Linked DNA regions of Homo sapiens: regions 1, 2, 3, 4, 6 and 7 are each linked to region 5. Evidence: promoter capture Hi-C in 16 types of primary human blood cells and fetal thymus (Javierre and others, 2016). All regions are on one chromosome and are shown on one strand. Each heading gives the region's core, a stretch centred on a gene start or on the middle of the fragment in contact. The rest is flanking DNA. Distances are from core to core; before and after follow the strand shown. Region 1 has its middle 78 kb from the start of LINC02074. Region 2 has its middle 27 kb from the start of LINC02074. Region 3 has its middle 9.6 kb from the start of LINC02074. Region 4 overlaps LINC02074 (long intergenic non-protein coding RNA 2074). Region 5 holds the start of SDK2 (sidekick cell adhesion molecule 2). Region 6 overlaps LINC02074 (long intergenic non-protein coding RNA 2074). Region 7 has its middle 98 kb from the start of LINC02074.

Evidence for each region. The method cuts DNA at HindIII sites, captures the fragments that hold promoters and counts their contacts. A CHiCAGO score of 5 or more calls a contact.
Region 1: a fragment that was not itself captured here is called in contact with the fragment with the promoter of SDK2 in region 5 in 2 of 17 cell types (M2 macrophages and M0 macrophages); the score reaches 6.3 in M2 macrophages.
Region 2: a contact is called between a fragment that was not itself captured here and the fragment with the promoter of SDK2 in region 5, in 2 of 17 cell types (M1 macrophages and M2 macrophages). The highest score is 5.8, in M1 macrophages.
Region 3: a fragment that was not itself captured here is called in contact with the fragment with the promoter of SDK2 in region 5 in 2 of 17 cell types (M1 macrophages and M0 macrophages); the score reaches 5.8 in M1 macrophages.
Region 4: a fragment that was not itself captured here is called in contact with the fragment with the promoter of SDK2 in region 5 in 2 of 17 cell types (M0 macrophages and M2 macrophages); the score reaches 5.6 in M0 macrophages.
Region 6: a contact is called between a fragment that was not itself captured here and the fragment with the promoter of SDK2 in region 5, in 1 of 17 cell types (M1 macrophages). The highest score is 5.7, in M1 macrophages.
Region 7: a contact is called between a fragment that was not itself captured here and the fragment with the promoter of SDK2 in region 5, in 4 of 17 cell types (M1 macrophages, M2 macrophages, monocytes and 1 more). The highest score is 7.9, in M1 macrophages.

The regions. Positions count from the first base shown.
Region 1 is chr17:74,033,165-74,035,876 of GRCh38, forward strand. No RefSeq gene overlaps it. Among named protein-coding and RNA genes, the nearest start is that of LINC02074, 78 kb to the right of the region's middle. The HindIII fragment of the contact is 3,996 bases long and covers 1-2,712 here.
Region 2 is chr17:74,138,309-74,141,306 of GRCh38, forward strand. No RefSeq gene overlaps it. Among named protein-coding and RNA genes, the nearest start is that of LINC02074, 27 kb to the left of the region's middle. The HindIII fragment of the contact is 2,270 bases long and covers 155-2,424 here.
Region 3 is chr17:74,120,934-74,124,110 of GRCh38, forward strand. No RefSeq gene overlaps it. Among named protein-coding and RNA genes, the nearest start is that of LINC02074, 9.6 kb to the left of the region's middle. The HindIII fragment of the contact is 2,592 bases long and covers 287-2,878 here.
Region 4 is chr17:74,093,827-74,096,550 of GRCh38, forward strand. All of the region lies in intron 3 of LINC02074 (long intergenic non-protein coding RNA 2074), which reads right to left. Among named protein-coding and RNA genes, the nearest start is that of LINC02074, 18 kb to the right of the region's middle. The HindIII fragment of the contact is 279 bases long and covers 1,228-1,506 here.
Region 5 is chr17:73,642,903-73,645,780 of GRCh38, forward strand. It overlaps SDK2 (sidekick cell adhesion molecule 2), which reads right to left and starts at 1,543. Exons shown (of 45, transcript NM_001144952.2): 1 at 1,123-1,543. The coding sequence starts at 1,186. LOC124904054 (a long non-coding RNA gene) reads left to right here and starts at 2,572. Exons shown (of 2, transcript XR_007065893.1): 1 at 2,572-2,792. The HindIII fragment of the contact is 5,171 bases long and covers 1-2,878 here.
Region 6 is chr17:74,069,266-74,072,174 of GRCh38, forward strand. All of the region lies in intron 4 of LINC02074 (long intergenic non-protein coding RNA 2074), which reads right to left. Among named protein-coding and RNA genes, the nearest start is that of LINC02074, 42 kb to the right of the region's middle. The HindIII fragment of the contact is 585 bases long and covers 1,272-1,856 here.
Region 7 is chr17:74,013,408-74,016,379 of GRCh38, forward strand. No RefSeq gene overlaps it. Among named protein-coding and RNA genes, the nearest start is that of LINC02074, 98 kb to the right of the region's middle. The HindIII fragment of the contact is 6,027 bases long and covers 1-2,972 here.

The sequences.
Region 1 (2,712 bases), core at 115-2,614, 390 kb after region 5:
TAGTACCTGCCCTGCCAGGCCAGGTTCTTTGCACACCCCCAAGGAAGACATATTTGCCCCCATTTACAGGGTCAACTCAGTTTCCCCACCTGTGCAGAATGGGCCTGAGAAAAAAAAATCCATGATAAACAAAATGTCCAAATGTTAAATAAAGACCAGACCCAGCCCTGCCCTCGGCCTCCCGCCTCTCACTCTAGTCCTAGCCCTATGGTACCCTGTCTTTATTTTAAAATTTGCATATTTTTTTCGTTGTGGATTGAGGAGCTTTGAATTTTGATTTTAATATTGTATATCTTGATTACCTAGTTTTTAAAAAATCCCCCTCCCAAATCTAGTGCCCAAGGGGAATGCCTTACTCACCCAACCCTTGGTCCTGTTTGGAAGCCATACAGGGTAGTGAAAAATGAACATTAAGAATCAGACACAAAACCAAGTCCAGCTTTGCCATGACACCTAGCCAAGCCTCAATTCCTCCTCCATAAAAATGGGCTACTAGTGCCACTGCAGGCTGATGGTGAGACGGTTAACAAATGCTGACCTTGGCACGGAGCCTGGCATAGAGCAGAGGCTCAGTAACATGGCAGCTCCCTCCTCTGCCCAGTCCTTCCACACCCCAGACCCCCACTGCAAAGGCAACTATCAGTCAGGGACCCACAGAGCCCACCCAAGCTGGGTGGGGACCACCAGCTTCTCAAAAATCCTTCCCGGGTCTGTCTTTGGCAAAGGGAGAAATGAACTGCAGATTCAGGGTGAGAAGGGAAAACTGATAATTGCAGCTGTGTCAAACCAATTTGTTTGTGTTAACTGCCGCCAATTAAACTTCTTTTCTTTCTTTTTTTAAGTTTTAAGTTACCCCAGGTCAGGCTATCTTAGGGAAGTGGATTTCTGGCCAGACGGTAAGAAATGCTTTTATCTACTCTCACCTGAGGTGGAAGGAGAAAAATAAATTTCAGAGACACTCAGGAGCAATGAAAAGATAGAAAAGAGCTGGGGAGGATATGTCAGAGAGAAATGAGTGACTAGGACAGCATGACAAGCCCAGTCCCCATGAGCAGAGGGGAAGAGAGACCCAGGCCACCTTCGGCTGGCTGGCTACTCAGTGTGTGGTCCATGGAAGAGCTGCACGGGCATCACCTGGGGAGCTTGTAAGAAATGCAGCATCTCACGCCCCACCCCAAGCCCCTCAGTCAGAATCTGAATTTTAGCAAGACTCCTGGGGGGATTTGTATCCACAGTACAGGTTTGAGAGATGCTGGTCTATCCCACTCTGAGACCCACCCATCCTGTATTGATCTTCCCCAGGCACCAACGGTGGAGGCTCCTTAGGGCATGGAGTCTTCTGGGTCACCCCACCCATTTCTAAAGCATCTGGCCATTCACCAAGAAAGGTCCTCTCAATGGTTCCATATCTTCTGATGCAACTCCATTCCCCAGCAGATCAGTCCTCCACTCACCGCTCTGCTGGGGCTTCAGGAACTGTCCTGTGGTGTCTGGTTGGATCCAGCCGATGGGAGGCAGGAAGAGAGAAATGCTGGGGAATGTATTCCTGACTCTCTCCCTAAAGGGCTTCAAACTGAAGCCCCTTCAATTGCTCTGCTCTTCTCCTTCTGCTCACATCTGCTGGGCACCCCCCTCCAAGGCTAAGCTCTATGCTGAGCTCTATTAACCTGGCTCCCTCCTCTTGCCTGGTCAGGCCTAAGAGGCACAGCGGCTTCCTGGCTACTGTTTAGCAGATGCATCTGATGGGAATAACTTGATCACACCTCAAGAATGAGCCCGTATGGCAGGTGCACCTGAATGCACGCTCTGAATTCCGAGCTAAGGAATCCATGAGGGGCCAACCCAGAGAGTCATTCCTTATCTATGAGGAACATCTGAGCCCCCAGCCAGTCTGTGGAACACAGGCCATACAGGGGATCAAGGCCCATGGTTTTGGGTTAAGTGAAGGTGCCCAGGTGGAGATGGTTAGGGGAGGGTGCTAAGTAAAAATGCCATGTAAACTGCATGCTTTTGTAACCAGTGATGGTTCTCCCACCCAGCCCACAGCCACGGAGCTGTGCTTCATCCTGTTGGGCTCACTGCCGCTGAACCCTCCCCTGCATGTAAGCCCCCAGCAAAGCCCCATGTCTCATCTGCTGGCTCTGGGTCTCTTCTTTGGTCTCCTGAACCTGGTGCCATCCCCATTGGAATTAATAGGGATTCAGCACAACAGCTACTCCCTGGATGTCTCATTCTCCTCGTTTCCCTCAGCCCTGCTGTCGAATGGGTTTTACTACTTAGGTGCTGCAAGGTCAACCGATCAGCAGACAACTGCCATTGAAAAGGCTGTCTATGGTACTCACAGGGGCCACACGGAAAGGCAACAGGCTTGGTTTTGAGACAGAGGAAGGCGACAACCATGGGCAAGAGCCTTCACTGTGGTTCCTTGGGATGAAATGAGCAAGGCACAGTGGGCAGGTGTAGCATTGGTGAGTGTGAGTAATTTCAGCGGACTCTGAGGCATCGGAGCCATCCCTAGATGTCTGGCACCCAGCCCTGGGGTGTTTAGTGCAGGCAGATGTGGTCAGAGTGTGAGAGCCCAGCAAGGGATGGAATTGAGGGCGTAGACTCTGGATCAGTTGGTTTGTATTTGAAAGGTTCATATACTGCCTCCCAAGAAGATTCCTCCCGAGGAAGTGGGTGCGGGAGGGAAAGAGGAATGCAGGAGTCTGA
Region 2 (2,998 bases), core at 40-2,539, 500 kb after region 5:
ATTAGATTCTCACAGGGAGCGTGCAACCTAGATCCCTCACATGCACAGTTCACAATAGGGTTGATGCTCCTATGAGAACCTAATGCTGCCATTGATAGGAAGTGGAGTTCAGGTGGTAATGTGAGCAATGGTAAGCAGCTGTAAATACAGATGAAGCTTCACTTGCTGGACCACTGCTTACCTCCTACTGTGCAGCCCCATTCCTAACAGGCCACAGACCAGTACCAGTCTGTGGCTCAAGGGTTGGGGACCCCTGGGCTAGACACTATGAAAGAAAACAAGAACATGATGAATAGAGAAATGAAATATATGTAAAATCCCCAAAATATCTTTCAGACACACCAAAAATGCAATATCCAAAAGAAAAAGTAAAAATGCATTTGAGGGGACTAACAGCAGATTAGATACTACAGAAGATCACTGATCTTGAAAGTGGAGCAATACGTCCTATCTAAAATTGAGCACAGATAGAAAAAGAATAGAAAAAAAAGAGAACAACCAGAAAATAAGTGACCTGCAGAACAGTATTAATGTTCTAACCTATGTGTAATTGAAACTCCAAAAAATATATATATTTGCAGATATAATAATTGGCCAGGTGTCATGGCTCATGCCTGTAATCCCAACACTTTGGGAGGTTGAGGTGGGTGGATCACTTGAGGTCAGGAGTTCAAGACCAGCCTGGCCAACATGGTGAAACTCTGTCTCTACTAAAAATATAAAAAATTATCTGAGCACGGTGGTGCATGTCTGTAATCCCAGTTACTCAGGAGGCTGAGATAGGAGAATTGCTTGAACCCAGGAGGCCTCTGTGAGCTGAGATTGCACCACTGCACTCCAGCCTGGGTGACAGAGAGAGACTCCATCTAAAAAAAAAAAGAGAGAGAGAGAGAATAATCAAATTGTTTACAAATTGGATGAAAATGATAAACCCACAGATCCAGAAGCTCAGTAAACCCCAAACAGAATAAACATTAAAACACACACACACACCAAGGGGAAAAGACACATTTTGAAGAGGATTAAAGATAAGAATGACAGCAGACTCTTCAACAATTGTGCAAACCAGAAGACAGTGGAATGACATCTTTAAAGAAGGGAAAGAAAATAACTGTCAAACTAGTAATCTTTAGTTAGTGAAAATATATTTCAAAAGTAAAAGTAAAAAAAAAAGACTTTTTCAGACATACAAAAGCTGAGAGAACTCCTCACCAGCAGTTCTGAACTTTAAGAAATGTAATAGGAAGATATTCAGGCAGAAGGAAAGGGATATCAGATGGAAATCTGAATCTATACAAAGGAAGAATGTCAGAAATGGTTAATATGTGGATATCTATAATATCCATTTTTCAATCTCTTCAAAAGATAACTAGCTGCTTAAATCCACATAATAGTTCTACTTCTGGCCAAGATGGAGTAACAGAAAATGGATTTACTCTAAAATGCTAAATGGTACGACTGCTTTGGAAAGTTAAGAGGTTGGCCGGGCACGGTGGCTCACGCCTGTAATCCCAGCACTTTGGGAGGCCAAGGTGGGCGGATCACCTGAGGTCAGGAGTTCGAGACTAGCCTGACCAGCATGGTGAAACCCCATCTCTACTAAAAACACAAAATTAGCCAGGTATGGTGGTACATGCCTGTAATCCCACCTATTCGGGAGGCTGAGGCAGGAGAATTGCTTTAACCCAGGAGGCAGAGGTTGCAGTGAGCCAAGATTGTGCCATTGCACTACAGCCTGGGCAACAAGAGCAAAAAACTCCATCTCAAAAAAAAAAAAAAAAAAAAAAAAAAAGGTCAAACACATGCTCACAATATGACCCAGTGATTCTAATATCTTTTTCTACCAGATATAAAAGCATATGTCCACACAAAGACTTGTACATGAATGTCCGTAAGAGCTTTATTTATAATAGCCTCAAATTAGAAACAACCCAAATACCCATCAACAAGAGAATGGATAAACCATTTGTGGTGCAAAATGGGATTCTACACAGCAATAAAATGAACAAACTACTGATACATACAATAACATGGGTAAATTCAAAAGCATTATTCGTAGTGAAAGAGGCCAGACACAGAAGACTACAAGCTGCATAATTTATTTATGTGAAATTCTAGAAAAGGCAAAACTGTAGTGACAGAAAACAAACCAGTGGTTGGCATAGCAGTTGGAGTGGATTGACTAAAACAGCCACAAGGGAATTTTCTGGGGCGATGAGAATATTCTATACTTTGGATGTTGTGGTGGACCCATGAGTAACAACGTTAGTCAAAACCCAGTGAATCATAGACTGAAAATGGGTGAATTTTGTTGTATACAACTTGTATTTCAATAAAGTCATTTTTTAAAAACTGTGGGATGTCACCAAAGCAGTGATTGTTGAAAGATTTGTACCTTTAAATGCCCTTATTAGAAAAGAAGAAAGCTTTAAAAATCGAATATCTAGGTTTCTACTTTCGGAAGCTAGAAAAAGAAGAGAAAATTGAAACCAAGTAAGCAAAAGAAAGTAAATAAGAGAGAGGCTGGGCATGGTGGCTCATGCCTGTAATCCCAGCACTTTGAGAGTCTGAGGTGGATGGATCACCTGAGGTCAAGAGTTTGCCTGACCAACATGGTGAAACCCAGTCTCTACTAAAAATGTAAAATTAGTCGGACATGGTGGTGCATGCCTGTAATCCCAACTACTCAGGAGGCTGAGGCACGAGAATCGCTTTGCATGAGAATTGGAGGTTGCAGTGAGCCATTGCATTCCAGCCTGGAAAACAGAGCAAGACTCTATCTCAAAAAAAAAAAAAAAAAGAAAAGAAAAGAAACTAGATAAGAGCAGTAGTAAATGAAATAGAAAACAGACAAACCATGAAGAAATTTAACAAAGCTCAAAATATTCTTCCTTTAAAAGATTGATATAATTAATAAATTTTTTAACAAATGAAAATAAGAGAAAGCATAATTTACCAGTGAGTGAAAGAAGGGACAAATCCTACAAAAATGCAGAGG
Region 3 (3,177 bases), core at 333-2,832, 480 kb after region 5:
CCAAAGCTGGCAGTTGAAAGTTAGCCCAACCGTGCAAAAAGGGATAGAGTCATAACACTTACAGTGTCCGCTTCACCCTCTAAGCTCCCCTGTGCATTCATAGCATCCCAAAAGCATTTATTAAGCACTTCCAGTTTGTACCAAGTTTAGAAGAAGATCCAAAGAAGACTCAGTTATGTCTGAACCTAATGGTCAGATGGGCGCACAGCAAAGCCATCGCCGTGCAACCTCACAGCAAAGGCAAGCCAACATCAGAGCGCAGAAGAGGGAGTAGGGAAGTGGAGAAAGCTTCCATAAAAAGAGAAACCTTTGCTCCTGATGGCTTTTAATATCACCTATATGTTAATAACTCTCAAATTTATATTTCAGCCTGAACTGCTTCCCTGAATTTCAGACTTGTAGACCTGACTGCCTACTTCCTTCTGCTTGTATGTTTCATGCAGATCTGTATTTGTTATCTTGCTGGCTAACAAATGACCCCAAAACTTAGCAGCTTAAAACGACTGGCATTTATGATCTCACAGGGTTTCTGAGGGTCAAGAATCCAAAAGAGGCTCAGCAGGGTGGTTCTGGTCTGGAGTCTCTCATGAGACTGCAGTTGAGATGTTGACCAGGGCTGCAGTCATCTGAAGGCTGGACTGGGGCTGGAGGATCTGCTTCCAAGATGATGTATTCATGTGGCTGCTGGCTGGAGACTTCAGGTTCTTCCCACACACCCTCTCCATAGGGCTGCTCATCATATCACAGCTGGCTTCCCCCAGAGCAAATAACCCAAGAAAGAAAGGGAGACAGAGAATGAGACAGGCAGGGGGTACAGTCTTTTACAACCTAATCTAAATACTGGCATAACATCACTTCTGTCACATTTTATTGGTCACACTGACCAACTCTGGTACAGTGTGGGAGGGGACTACACACAGGTGTGAATACCAAGAGGTGGGGCCTGGCCAGTTGTAGTGGCTCACACCTGTAATCCCAACACTTTGGGAAGCCAAGGTGGTCAGATCACTCGAGCCCAGGAGTTTGAGACAAGGCTGGGCAACATGGTGAGACTGCATCTCTACAGAAAAATATTTTTTTAAATGTATCTGGATATGGTGGTGCATGCCTATAGTCCCAGCTACTCAGGAGGCTAAGGAGGAGGATCACTTAAGCCCAGCAGGTTAAGGTTGCAGTGAGCCATGATCACACCACTGCACCCCAGCCTGAGTGATGGAGTGAGACTCTATCTCAAAAAAAAAAAAAAGAAAATGGTTATGGTCACTGGGGTCATATTGAAGGCTGGTGACCACAGGATCTTAAACTTAACATGCCCGAAATGGAACTCCCAAAGTTTCTGCCTTCGTGCACAAAGCCATCTGCACTGTCTTCCTCATCTCAGTGAGAATGGCAAATCCATCTTTCCAGCTGCTCAGGCCAAACACTTGGAGACATCCTTAACTCCTTCCCTTCCATCCACTTACATCTAATCCTTCAGCAAATCCTGGTAGCTGTCCCTTTAAAATATATTGGAATTCTGACCACTTTCCACCACCCTCATTGCTGCCATCCTGATTTAAGGCACCTGCCTTATCATCTCTCACCTGGATGATTGCAATGGCCTCCCCAGCAGTCTCCCTGCTTCCATCTTTGAGCCCCCTGCAGTCATAGTGATCCTGTTAAAATGCATTACTCCTCTGCTTGAAACCCTCTCATGAGGGCAGAAAATCCTCACAGGGCCCTTCACCGTCTGACCCCACCACCACCATCCTAATCTCACATCCTATGACTGCCCTGCACCCTCCATCCGGCCCCCCTGGATATTGCTAGCATACTCCTGCCTCTGACCCTTTGCACTTGCTCTTCCCTCTGTCTAGAAAGCTGTTCCCACCACTATGCCCGGCTAATTTTTTGTATTTTTAGTAGAGACGGGGTTTAACCGTGTTAGCCAGGATAGTCTCAATCTCTTGACCTTGTGATCCACCCGCCTCGGCCTCCCAAAGTGCTGGGATTACAGGCGTGAGCCACCGCGCCCGCCCTGTAGTCCCAGCTACTCAGGAGGCTGAGGCAGGAGAATGGCGTGAACCCGGGAGGCGGAGTTTGCAGTGAGCCGAGATCACACCACTGCACTCCAGCCTGGGCGACAGAGCAAGACTCCGTCTCAAAAAAAAAAAAAAAAAAAAACAAAGAAAGAAAAAAGAAAAGAAAAGAAAGCTGTTCCTCCAGGCATCCACTTGGCTGGCTCCTCATTGCCTTCAAGTCTTTATGCAGTGCCCCCTGCTTGGAAGGCCTTCCCCGACCACCCTATTTATAAACTTCCTATTCCCTTCTTTGCCTTTGTTCTTCTTCTTAGCATGTTTCACCACCTCCAAACCATCTATTTTATTTGTTTTTCTTACTTGTCTGTCTCCCCCACAGATCGTAAGCTCCATGAAGATCCCTGTCTGTTTTTTCACTACTCTATTCATAGCATCTAGAATTGTGGCTGACTCATTCAGGATGCTAAAAAATATTTGTTGAATCACCAGAAGGAGGGAACATGAAGAAAAGTATTTCAGTTATCTACCACTTCATACCCATCCACCTTAACTAGGATGCCTAAAACAACAACAATCATGTATTTGGCTCCTGAATATGCAATTTGGGCAGAGTCTGGGAAGACAGCTGATCTCTGCTCACATGACATAGGCTGGGGAAGCTCAAAGGCAGGGGTGACCCAACAGTGGGGGCTGGAGTCATCTCAAAGCCATCACTGCTCTCTGGTGGTTGTTACTGGCTGTCACCTCTGACCTCAGCTGGGTTCATCAGCCAGAACCCTACCCTGGCCTCTTCATGTGCTGTTGGCTTCCTCACAATACGGTGAGTTCTAAGAGCACTGCCCCGAGAGGCAAGTAGGGCAAGCTTCCCATTTCTGAAGGCCTTGTCCCAGAAACAAATGCAGTGTCATTGCCACCATTTTCTACCGATGAAGTGGTCACAGAGCCTGGATTCCAGGGGAAGAGACATAGACTCCACCTTCCAATGGAGAAGCAACAAAGAATTGTAGGGCCATGTTTTTAAGACCACCACATAAAGGAAGAGAAAGAAAACCTTTCCCAGGCCCCCCGACTTGTGCCGAGCTCAGCGTAGGATGTTTGCAATCATCAATACACAGGTAAGGGCTTGCCCGCATGCTGTATCATAGAAAGCGGCACGCAT
Region 4 (2,724 bases), core at 117-2,616, 450 kb after region 5:
ATCCTGGTTCACCACTCTTAATTTTTGCCTTCCATAAGGCCCTCAGGCATGGACATAATTCAGCCAAGTTCTATGCAACTTTATAACAAGGATAGCTTTTACTCCAGTTCCCAATACCTTCTTCCCCATTTCCATCTCAGACTTCATCAGAATGGCCTCTACCATCCATATGTCTACCAACATTCAGATCACAACCACTTAAGTAATCTCTAAGAAGTTTCAGACTTTACCTACATTTCTTCTCTTTTTCTGAGCCCTCTGCAGAATCACTCTTTACTACTCCATTCGTGGCAATCTAGACTTTTTCTAACCGGCTTCTCTAGATGCTTCCAGCCTCTACTCATTACCCAGTTCCAAATCTGCTTCCATAGTTTCAAGTATTTGTTATAAAAAATAGTCCCACTTCTCAGTACCAATTTCCTGTCTTAGTCCATTTTGTGTTGCTACAACAGAAAACAACAGCCTGGGAAATTTATAAACAATAGAAGTTTATTTGACTCATGATTCTGGAGGCCAAAAAGTTTAAGAGCATGATGCCGGCATCTTGTGAGGACCTTCTTGCTGTTATCATTCCATGGTAGTTGGTGGTAGAGCAAGAGAGCGCACATGAGCAAAACCAAGAGAGAAACAGAGACAAACGTACCCTTTTTTAATCAGCATCCCACTCTTGTGATAATGCCATTAATTCATTCATGAGAGCAGAGCCTTCATGACCTAATTACCTCTTAAACGTCCTGTTTCTCAACAGTTTCACATTGGGGATTATGTTTCTAATGCATGAATTTTGAGGCACACAAACCATAGCAGACCTAGGCCTTTCATGGGAGGGAATACAAACTAGAGGCAGACATAAAGCTGTGTCCATTAAAGAGGTGAAATACATTATGTGCATTCTACTCACTGGGTAACCAGCAACATACTGGACCTGAGTATAAGAAGAAACATAAAAATTGTGTATCTTGTAATTCCAGGCTTTGAGCTGTTTTCAGTCTGACTGATGAGACAAGGTTTGTGCCAGTGAAACAAGTAGAGATTAATTCAAGACAGATGTGATCACCAGTCTCTGCTGGCATAAATCAAGTTTCATAAATGACTGAACTAGCATTTGAACCAACATTTCTTCTTATTTTCATCCCAGTAGCATCATCCTAATCTGGTGACCTTAAAGGCTTTTAAAAATCTGGTTATTACTAGAAAAATGTTGCCTCCATCTAAAAGTTGCAATAAAGCTTTCTTTCCCTGAGAAAAATCTAGCCAGCCCTTTGTGTAGGTTGACTATAGCGGGCATGTGCCCAGCATCATTTTCCTGATGGTTCATTCTCCCTCACCCAATACTGAGCCTTCTCCAATCTAGGGAAGTGGTAAGTCCATGATCCAATAAAAAACATTCCATCTACATGACACAGTGGTCAGTTAAAAGACTCAAGTTGGTCCAATAAAAATCCTTCCCTAGAATTAACTTAAATACACTAAAAGACAAAATTTACTTTCCAATTGAGGTTGATAAGCTTGGAAAATATGAATTAGGGCTACTTGTGGCCATGTTTCTCACCACACAGAGAGATTATTTCCCAGAATGAAGCCAAACAAGATAGCAGGCAGAGGAGCAACAGTTTTTCATCCTCAGTCTCATCCCTGAAGGCAGGTTCCTACTGCTGTCCCAGAATCCCTCAAAGCTCCTGGACTAATACATTCCCCATTTGCTTGAGCCGATTAAGTTGGATATCTATCACTTGCAAATAAGTGAGTCCTGACTAATATGTTGGCTTCACAGTGCCATGCCCAGTGCATCTTATCTGCACATCTCCATTTTCCTGCAGAAAAACGACCATTGGATGGAAAGGGCTGTGAAGCTCTCCTTTAAAGTACACATTCCTGGGCTTAACCCCAGACTTACTGATGCAGAATCTCTGGGGATAAGACCCAGGTATTTGTGTAATGCTACCAGTGATTCTGTTGCACACACAGTGCCAAGTTTGCAGCATGGGATCACCACATCTCATTGGCTGATTCCTGGAGTCTAACTCCCCTGGAAAATTTTGCTCTGGCCAGGTATCACACTTTAAGATGAATACTAAAGGGTGCTATGGTTTTAATGTGTCCCCCAAAGTTTATGTGTTTGAATCTTAGTCCCCAATGCAACAGGGTTGGGAGGTGGGACATTTAAGAATGGATTAGGTCATAAGGGCTCTGCCCTCATGAATGGATTAATGTTATTATCCCAGGAAAAGGTTAGTTATTGTGAGAGTGGACTTGTTATAAAAGTGAATTCGACCCCCGCTTGCCCTCTTCCTTCCTCACACTCTCTTGCCTTTTCACCTTCTGCCATGGGATGATGCAGCTTAGATGCTCTCACTAGATGCGGGCCCCATGACCTTGGACTCGCCAGCCTCCAGAACTGTAAGAAATAAAATTATTTTCTTTCTCAATTACCCATCTGTGGTATTCTGTGATAGCAACACAAAACGGACTAAGACAGAGAGCATGACCAGGAGAAAACCAGGTCAGTGAGGGCACTCGCGCTGTTCTTCCTCTGATGTGTTTTTTCAGAAATCAGGGTGTTTAACAGCAAATCCACAAGGGATATTCTGTCTTCAACGGTGTGAAAACTGTCATGTGGAAGAATAACAGATTGACTTTGTGGTGTTCCAGAGGACAGGCCTTCAACCAAGGGCATCCTGGTGCCAGATTTCAGCTAAATAAAGGGAAGAACTTTCTGGCAAT
Region 5 (2,878 bases), core at 293-2,792:
GTGGGGAGTGGGTTGCAGCCCCCACAGTCCGGACCCCTAGGGTGGGTCTGGCCCCCTCCTGAGCCTGCGAGAGTGAAGGCCTAGCCCTGCGAGTCCTGGAGCTCGGTCCAGGCTTCGTCTCCCTCCGCCCCCAGCAGGCGCCGCTCGGACACCGCTGACACCACTGTCTGGATCGGCGAACCCCAAAGTCGAGGAACCGCCGGTGCAGCCGCCCTTCACCTCGGGGACCTGCCCGGGGACCAGGGGGACGTCTGGGCATCCACCCTCAGGAAGCGGGCAGCGCAGATCACACCTCGGATCCTTCGTAGCACTCCCAAACCCAAAGCCACCAGCCCTTCTCCACCGCGAGGCTGCTCCCGGCAGCCACAGGTCACAGCAGCGAGCGGCTGCACAGACTATCGAGCGAACAGCGGAGGCTGGAGGCAGGGGCGGGGATGCTGGGTGTGGGTGGATGGGTAGGAGGGGAGGCCTCAGACCCTCCCTGTGCACCACCCCCCGGTGGGTCCGCGGCTGCACCCGCGACCTTGGCTCCAGGCCCGCGCAGCGAAGCACCCCCAGCCCCAGCGGCTGGCCGAGCAGCCAGGGGCGGGCTCCCGTACGTGGCCAAGCCGGGCAATTGCTCTCCCCGGGCGAGCAACCCGGCATCCAGCGCTCGCCCACCCCACTCCCTCGCCCCGGGGAGGCCATCGCCTGCCCGGCAGGGGCCCTGCCCTTCCCCGCAGACACCGAGCAGGGAACCAGGAGCTCGGTCTGGGAAGCTCAGCGTAGCCGAGCGTGGAGCCCGGCACGGAATGTCGCTCCCCTCCCAAGCCGGCGCAGGGCAGCCACAGCAGACGGGGGGAGGGGAGCGCCCCTCCCACTTCACCTTGGGCTCTTCTCTGCCTCCCCAGGTCGTCCCCACCTTCCCCCATTCGGAAGCCACAAGTCTCGGAGAGACTGCCCCACCCCCAAAAGAGCCCCAAAACTTGGGAGATGGGGTGTCTTGAAACTCCCTGGAGAGGGCTCTGCCACGGCTAAGCCGGGTGTCCAGGAGGTCACCGTGAGGCCGGCCAGCTCCCGCCGCCCCTCCCCCGCCCACTCTCCCAGCCCCCTCCCTGTCCCCACGTGGGGGTCCCTCCTTACCTTGGGCTCTGGCCGCGCGGATCTGATGCAGAGCTAGCAGTGTCCAGATCAAAAGCCCCCACATGGTGACCAGCCTGGAGAGGGGTCCTCGGGGTCTCCCTTCCCTCCGCCCTGTTTTATAATCCTGGTGGGGTCCGATACCCCGTGGCTTAGTCCCAGGAAACAGTCAGTCTACGCGGCTCCGTGCCCCGGGGTGTAATATGCCCGGGAGGGGCAGCGCTTGGCTACCCCAACCCTTCCTCCTCTTCTGTACTAGTCCGAGCCCGGCAGCGCGCCCGGAAGGCGAGGGGCGAGCAGGGAGAAAGAGGCCAGGCCGCCCTCTCGGACTAGGGCGCCTCTCTCCCTTAGCACCCCAACTCCGACTTCTCCCAAACAGGGCGGCCTCTGCGATCCGGCCGGGTCGCCGGCCGAGCTCCGGAATAAATGGACAACTTCAGGAAACTTCCTCCCGTGGCCACGTTGCCCGCCCCCTCCCCGCCCCCTGGTTGGGTTCTCCCGGCCGACGCAGTCACCGCCGTTCCAGGCGCCGGGCCCCCGGGACCCGGCCAGAGCCGAGCGCAGTGGCAGACGCGGGTGCGGGGGTTCTTTTAGGGGCGCCGGTTTCGGGGGACGCGGTGAGCATAGCGGTCCGAATCTCCCTGGAGCTGAAGTTTTCTTCTCTCTAACTTTGCAGGCAGCATCTGGCGGGGCCGAACCACCCCCTCTGGGCTCCACCGCCCTCGCGCCGAATCGGGAGACGCCGGGTCTCCTCCGGGGGCGCTGGGGCCGGGCGCGCCCTCGGCTCCGCGCCCAGCCGGCTAGCAAACTTTGCGGGTCCCGGAGCCGGGCGCGCAGCCCTGAGCGCCCATGTCCGCGCCAGCCGCGGGGCGGCGGGGGAGGGTGCTGGGCTTCGCGACGCGGGCTGTCGCCGGCGCCCGGGCGCAGAGCCTCCTGCCGGCCCGAGGATGGAGACCGGCGGCTCTGCCCTCCGCCGCGCCCCGGCCGGAGCTCTCGGGAAGACGCACGGAGAGCCCGGCGGGCAGCCCCGGCTCCGGGGACGCGGCGCCCCTTCGGACGCCCGGCGATCGCCGACCTCCCGGGCCGGAGGAGCAACGGCCGCCCCAGCGCCTCGGCCGCCGCTGCCGCTCGCCGAGCCCGCCGCCCTCCGCTTCCCGGGCTCGGCGTCCAGAGAGCCGCTCCTGCCTGCGCCGAGCCGGAGCTGCGGGGGCAGCGTGAGCCGGGGACGAGCGCGGCGGAGGCGGAGACGCGGAGAGGGGGGCCGAGCGCTACCCCGTGGCCGCGACTGGAGAGCAGCCTGCGCGCCGGGAGGGGCGGCGGCGGCGGCGGCGGCCCCGAGCCAGGCCCGGGAGCGAGCCCCGCAGAAATACAATCCGACTGCGCGGCCGCGGGCGCCCAGCGGCTCTGGGACCCGCAGGGGGGCAGCAGTGCCAACCTTCTGCCGCGCCGGGAGAGATGCGCGCGAGCCCCTCCGCTCTCTGCCCAGCCTTTCCTTCCAGCCTCGCTCGCGCCCCTGTCTCAAAGGCCTCATAGGACTCCCAGAGTCTCCTATAGTCGGGAGCCCCCAGCCCCCTTCCGGACATGGAGTGATTGGTGGGGAGGCGGCGGTTGGGAAAAGGGGGTCGGTCAACCGATTGATTCCAGTTTCCCCTTCCCAAGTCAGGCTCTCCAAGGTCTGGAAATGCTCAGGGCGGAGGGGGAGACATCGGGAGGCCTGGGACCTGCAGAAGCCTGAGAAAGTGAAGTTGGTGCCAAGGAG
Region 6 (2,909 bases), core at 314-2,813, 430 kb after region 5:
TAACAAGACAGAGATTGTCATCTGATGCAGCCTGTCATCGAAGAGCACCTCCTCACCTTTGCTGTCTTCTGTTGGCTAGAAGCAAGTCACTAGGTCCAGCCCACACTCTAGGGGAGGGGACTAACACAAGGGCATGAGCACCACGAGGTGGGAATCAGGGCGGGGGACCATCTCGGAGTCTTCCCACCGTGCTTGCCAAAGGTCTGTGGGTGCTAGAAAGCCAAGCTACATGCACCCTGGCTTTGTAGAGGAGGCTCAAGCCCATATCATTGCACTATACTTTCTCCATGTTCTTCAAGGGTAGGCAGGGCGTGGGGGAAGGCAAAGAGGGAGAGAGAAAGAGAGAGACTTTTCTATAGAACAAAAAGATGCATTAAGCTCTTCCTGGCCAGGCTACACTGATGAGGCTGTTCCTGCAGGACACAGCCCAGAGCTAAGGCTGCCCCCAATATTAATGGTGTCCTCATTAAAGTCATGAGCAGGGCTATATTTTAATTGCCTGGCAGAGCCCTGAGCACCTAAAGGGGAGACTTGCCACATCCTCCTCATCATGACTATTAATAGGCTGGGAACATTCAGGGCTGCTCAAGCCCAGGGTTGGCAACCCCCACTCCCTCCAACACAAGCAGCTCAAGTCTTCTCCAGACCTTCTTTACACCAGCCCCACAGACCTGCAGTAACCAAGGGCAACACCTGGCCTTTTCCCCAAGGCTGGTATAGTGTGTGCCTGGAACTTGGTCTTCTGAGCATCTGGGAGACAAGGGTGAAAGACCCAACCCGTCACCACCCAACCTGCTCAAGGGAAGAGCCTCATCTCCTAGCCCTGTCTCCCTGGCAGCCAGCACAGTGCCTGGCAGGTGGGCCTCAGTGCATGAGATGAGTCAGTGGCTGCCCACAGGGGTCATCTATGCAGATGTGGTAGGATGCCCATGAGACCAAGTTTGAGCAGGGAAAATTAGTCTCCACCAGCTTCTGATTTCCCATCTATCTTTGGGTGAGGGGGATGTTTTCAAACTCTCTAATGGCCAGAAGACCAAGGCAGAGGGGAGAACACCTGAGATTAGCAGGCTGAGTGCTTTTGTAAATATTTACCTTCTTGGTGCCCCAGGGATGTAACCATACAAAATGTAACCCTCCCAGCACCCCCGGCTTCCAATTCAGACAGGGTAGAGATGCCATGCCTCAGTGTACCTCCAGGGTTGGAAGTGAACACCTGCCATTGTCCCACCCGCATTTCTTTCTCTAGAGATTGCCAGGTTTTGAAACATAAAAGCTTCTATGCAATCCCCTTCCAGCCATAGAGTGGCGCCATTTGCTCTTCAGCCTCCCTTCCAAGTAAAACTCTTGAGAGATTCCAGTGTGCATTGCTTTCTCCATTCTAGGGGTACCTATCATCAGTGGGTCCAAAGTGAGTTCTCTGGCTGCTTTCTTACTAAAGCAGGGATTAAAAAAAAAAAACATCTTAATATCAGGATCCATTCCACCTCTGACTATATACATGCATGTACATACAGCCTGACAGTCTGTGCCACATGAGTAGTCTAGAAGGCCACCTTTCCTTCCACGGCCTCCCTAGCTTGGACGGGCTGGTAACTGTATCATTCTTATTTGCAAGGCTGGACTAAATCTTGTAGGGCATGTTATCCAATGGCCACAGAGACCTCTTGACTCCTCCAACAGGAAAATGGGCAGCTCCTCCCCCTGAGAAGTCTTGGCCAAGCAGGGTCAGAGCCCCCACACCCTGCCCACCCACTCCCTACCCACTCCTCCCCAGTCACAGGTCTCCTTTCCTCCAAGTTCCAGCATGCCTCCTCCTGCCTCCCTAGGCCCAACTTTGCTGTGCTGGGAGCAAAGAAAGCTTTATTGAATTTTCGCGAGTACTTTGCATGGCATCTGATTTACAATTCATAACCTGGATTATACTGCGAGTTCAGCCTTCCGGGGTCGGTGTAATTTAGATCTTGGAAATATTTGCCGTGCTTTCAATTCCCCTGACATCTAAGGGATTGGAAATGGATTCTGCCCCTGGAGGTTTGCTATTTGGAGGGGCCGATGGAAGGGGGTACAGGGATGAAGACAGCTCACAAAGGGAAGGTGGGGAGCAGTGAGGCGTGAAAACTGAGGTAGGGAAAAGATAAAGTTAAACACCAGCAGGAGGGAATGATCACATGCATGAGACAGAGGGGCAGGGGAGGCCACGTGACCAGGCTCCCTACCACCTGCACGCGTCACCTCTGCTTGTGTGGTGATGGCCCTGGGGACAGGAGTGCTGCTGTCCAGGGGAAGTGCCTTGGCAGCGTGGAGCAACCCACCTTCCCATCCCACCTTCTGGTCCTGCCTCTTTCCCTACCTGGCTGTAAGAGGGGCAAATCCCCTAGACTTTTTCTTTAACCAGTCTTATATAATTCACATACCATACAATTTGCCACTTAAAGCGTGCAATTCAGTCCAGGCATGGTGGCTCACACCTGTAATCCCAGCACTTTGGGAGGCCGAGGTGGGCAGATCACTTGAGGTCAGGAGTTCGAGACCAGTTGGCCAACATGGCGAAACCCCATCTCTACTAAAAATGTACAAAAATTACCCGGGCATGGAGGTGGGCACCTGTAATCCCAGCTATTCAGGAGGCTGAGGCAGGAGAACCGCTTGAACCCAGGAGGCGAAGGTTGCAGTGAGCAGAGATTGCACCACTGCACTCCAGCCTGGGCGACAGAGTGAGACTCCATTTCAAAAATAAATAAATAAAAATAAAATTTGCGATTCAATGGCTTTTAGTGTATTTACAAAGTTGTACACACATCACCATGATCAATTTTCGAACATTTTCATTACCCCAAATAAATACCCTGCACCCCTTGGCCATCACCCCTGTACTAGTTTCCTGGGGCAATTGTAACAGATTAATTATA
Region 7 (2,972 bases), core at 326-2,825, 370 kb after region 5:
GTTCGTGAGAAATGTTTTATAGCACAAAGCCATAACCTTGGCTGTGTGTGTAGGGGGAGGGGGCGAAGGCGAAGGTCGGGGTGAGGGTGGTTCTGGTGTCAGAACTCTGAAATTGTTTGGGCTGGAGCAGTTTCCAAATGGTGACTGACTGACCACCACCACCCCCAAAACAAATCTGACCCCAAAGAAACAGCTTTCTTACCTTAGAGAATGTTCAGAGGATCTGTCTGGGCTGCTTCTTCAAGGTAATTCCAAGAGGTTGCTGCAGAAATGATTTCAGCTACAGCAGGACAACTGAGCATGATAGTGGCATTACAGAGTGGTCACTACAAAAAGGAAAGAGATTATACTCTCTTGAAAGAGCACGCACACACATATAAAGTTAGGGCACACCTTCAGAGATTGGCCCCAGTCATCTGCCTCTATTAAATCAGTCATTTATTCAGCCTTGTAGATAAGCATGGGCTTATCTCCCCTGCAATCGGGGCTCAGGGAAGGGTGGGAGGCAGAAGGAAGAAATAGAATGACTCATTAATATCACTTGGCCTAATATGCTGGGACTGAGAAGTTAAATGAGAGAACTATGGGATTGAAAGGTAGACTAGACAGTTTTCTGCCCACTATTATTTAGGAGACACTGCGGCAAGTTGAGAGTGAGCTGGTTTTCATTCCTGGCTAATGAACGCATACGATCTAAGAAAGGGGCGGCTGGCTGGAAAAAGGGGATGAGAGCCTTTTCCCATTCTCCTTTGTCAGGCAAGAGCCGAGGAAGTTAGGGGTGCACCTGGCTGGGAGGAGGAGAAGAACCCGAATGGACATCTCTCTGTTTTGCTCTGGAGAGAATGAAGACATCCTCACTCTAGGAACAGGGAAATCAACCTATGGGCAGAACCAGCTTCTGCCTCTGGTTGCAGCCATTGTCTGGCCCCTGCAGACAACTTCCTGAAGTATCAGAATGCTTGCCGACCACAGAGAATGACACTTTCTGGAGCCTGCACCACGAGCATCTGGGTCTTGGGGACAGGCAAAGCCCCTACTGCCCATTGTGGAAACCAATGCAAAAGGAGAAGCCCTGTTTCCTCAGATGAAGGTTCCCTCAGTCCAAGGGGCATGGCTTGCCTGGAGAGGGAGGGCCCAGGATCGATCCCATCACAACATGTCCAGCCTGACCTGTAGTACTTCTTACTTGGTAGCTCAGGGCTACAAAGGTGAATGTACCAAGAAACCCAGGCAGACGTTGTCTGGCTTTGCTGACCTAGCCTCAGAAGCCCCATCATGTTACTTCTGCCATGATCTTCGGTAGGAGAAGCAGCCACAAGTCCACCAGATTGAAGCAGGAAGAACAGATGCATCTTATCTACAGAAAATATCTGTGCTCATCCTCACTGCAGGAGCACTGGCTGTGACCACTCAGAGACTGGATCTCAGAAGCAACATGACCTCCTTGGACATCAGGACATTGGGAAGGGTGTTCAGGACCTCAGGCCTCTACTTTTTAGTGTTTCTGGATTTTGAAATAAAAATGAGGACACCCAGAAAATATTTGGATTTCACATAAATAGCAAATAGCTTATTTAATATAAATATATCCCAACCATCCTATGGGACACACTTATACTAAAAATGACTCATTGTTTATCTGAAATTTCAGTTTAACTTGGTGTCCTGCATTTTATCCGGCGATCCTCTGATGTTTTCCCTCCACAACACATCCTCTCTACCCTCTCCTGTTCCCTACAACTACAGGGGGTGGGGTGGAAAAGATAATTGTTCAAGATCCTGAAGTGCATTTCTGTGCCAGCCTTGGAGAGATATAAAGGATGATGTGGCCCCAGTAACTACTGCTGCATAACAAACTACCCTAAAACTTAGTGGCTTACATCAACCATTTTATTATGCTTAGAGATGCTGCAGAAATTTAGACAGGGCACTGCAGGAATGACTTATCTCTGCTCCACAATGTCTGGAGCTTCAGCTGGGAAGACTCAATGGCTGGAGATAACTCCTGGAGGCTGGAATCATCTGGAGGCATGGTCATCACCTGTCTGGCGGTTGGTGCTGACTGTGGGCTGCGACCTCGGCTGGACTCTGCAGGAGCATGTGCATGTAGCCTCTTCATGTGACCTGAGCTTCCTTACATCATGGCAGCCTCTGGGTTGTTGAACTTCTTACTTGGTAGCTCAGGGCTGCAAAGGTGAGTGTCCCAACAGACCCAGGCAGATGTTATCTGGTTTTTCCGACCTAGCCTCAGAAGCCCCATCGTGTTACTTCCACCATGATCTACTGGTAGGAGAAGCAGTCACAAGTCCACCAGATTGAAGGGGGGTGAACAGATGCACCTTCTCCACAACAAGAGCGCCAAAGAATCTGTGGGCTTGTTTTACAACCACTGGAGGTGGAGAAAGTGGAAGGAACTTGCGGTGAGGGAGGGGCTCACAGTGAGACTGTGGAGGTAGAAAATTTCTGATGACAACGAAGGAGCCTGGAGAGGTTGGCAGGAGTGGAGCTGAAGGTCAGAGAGGTTGGAAATTTGGGAATCATGAGCCCTGGGTGCAAGGAGGACCCGGAGGGGCTAGAGCTGAAGTCACTGGAGATGGTAGTTTGCAGAGGAAACCGCTGTGGAAGAGGGAGGAGAGACAGCACCGAGGGAGTAGGAGCCATCAGGAAACATCAGAAGCGCTCATGTGCCATGCACAGCTCACACTGCGCTTTATCAAAATCGGCGTCTGTCACCAAAATTGCGTTCGACTGACACCATCTGCATCGATCCTGCTCACAGTCCCCCAGGCTCCCTCTCCACTCCCACCCATCTGCACACGCTGAGTCTCTGCATCCCCCGTCTCCGCTGGAGAACAGAAACATCTGCCTGCAGCAAAGCCCTCTCTCCCACCTCTGCCCAAGATGGGTTTTGGCTGCCTGCACAGGGCCTGGGACTGTCTCTGCAAACCTCAGAACAGGCTCACTCTCAGGCT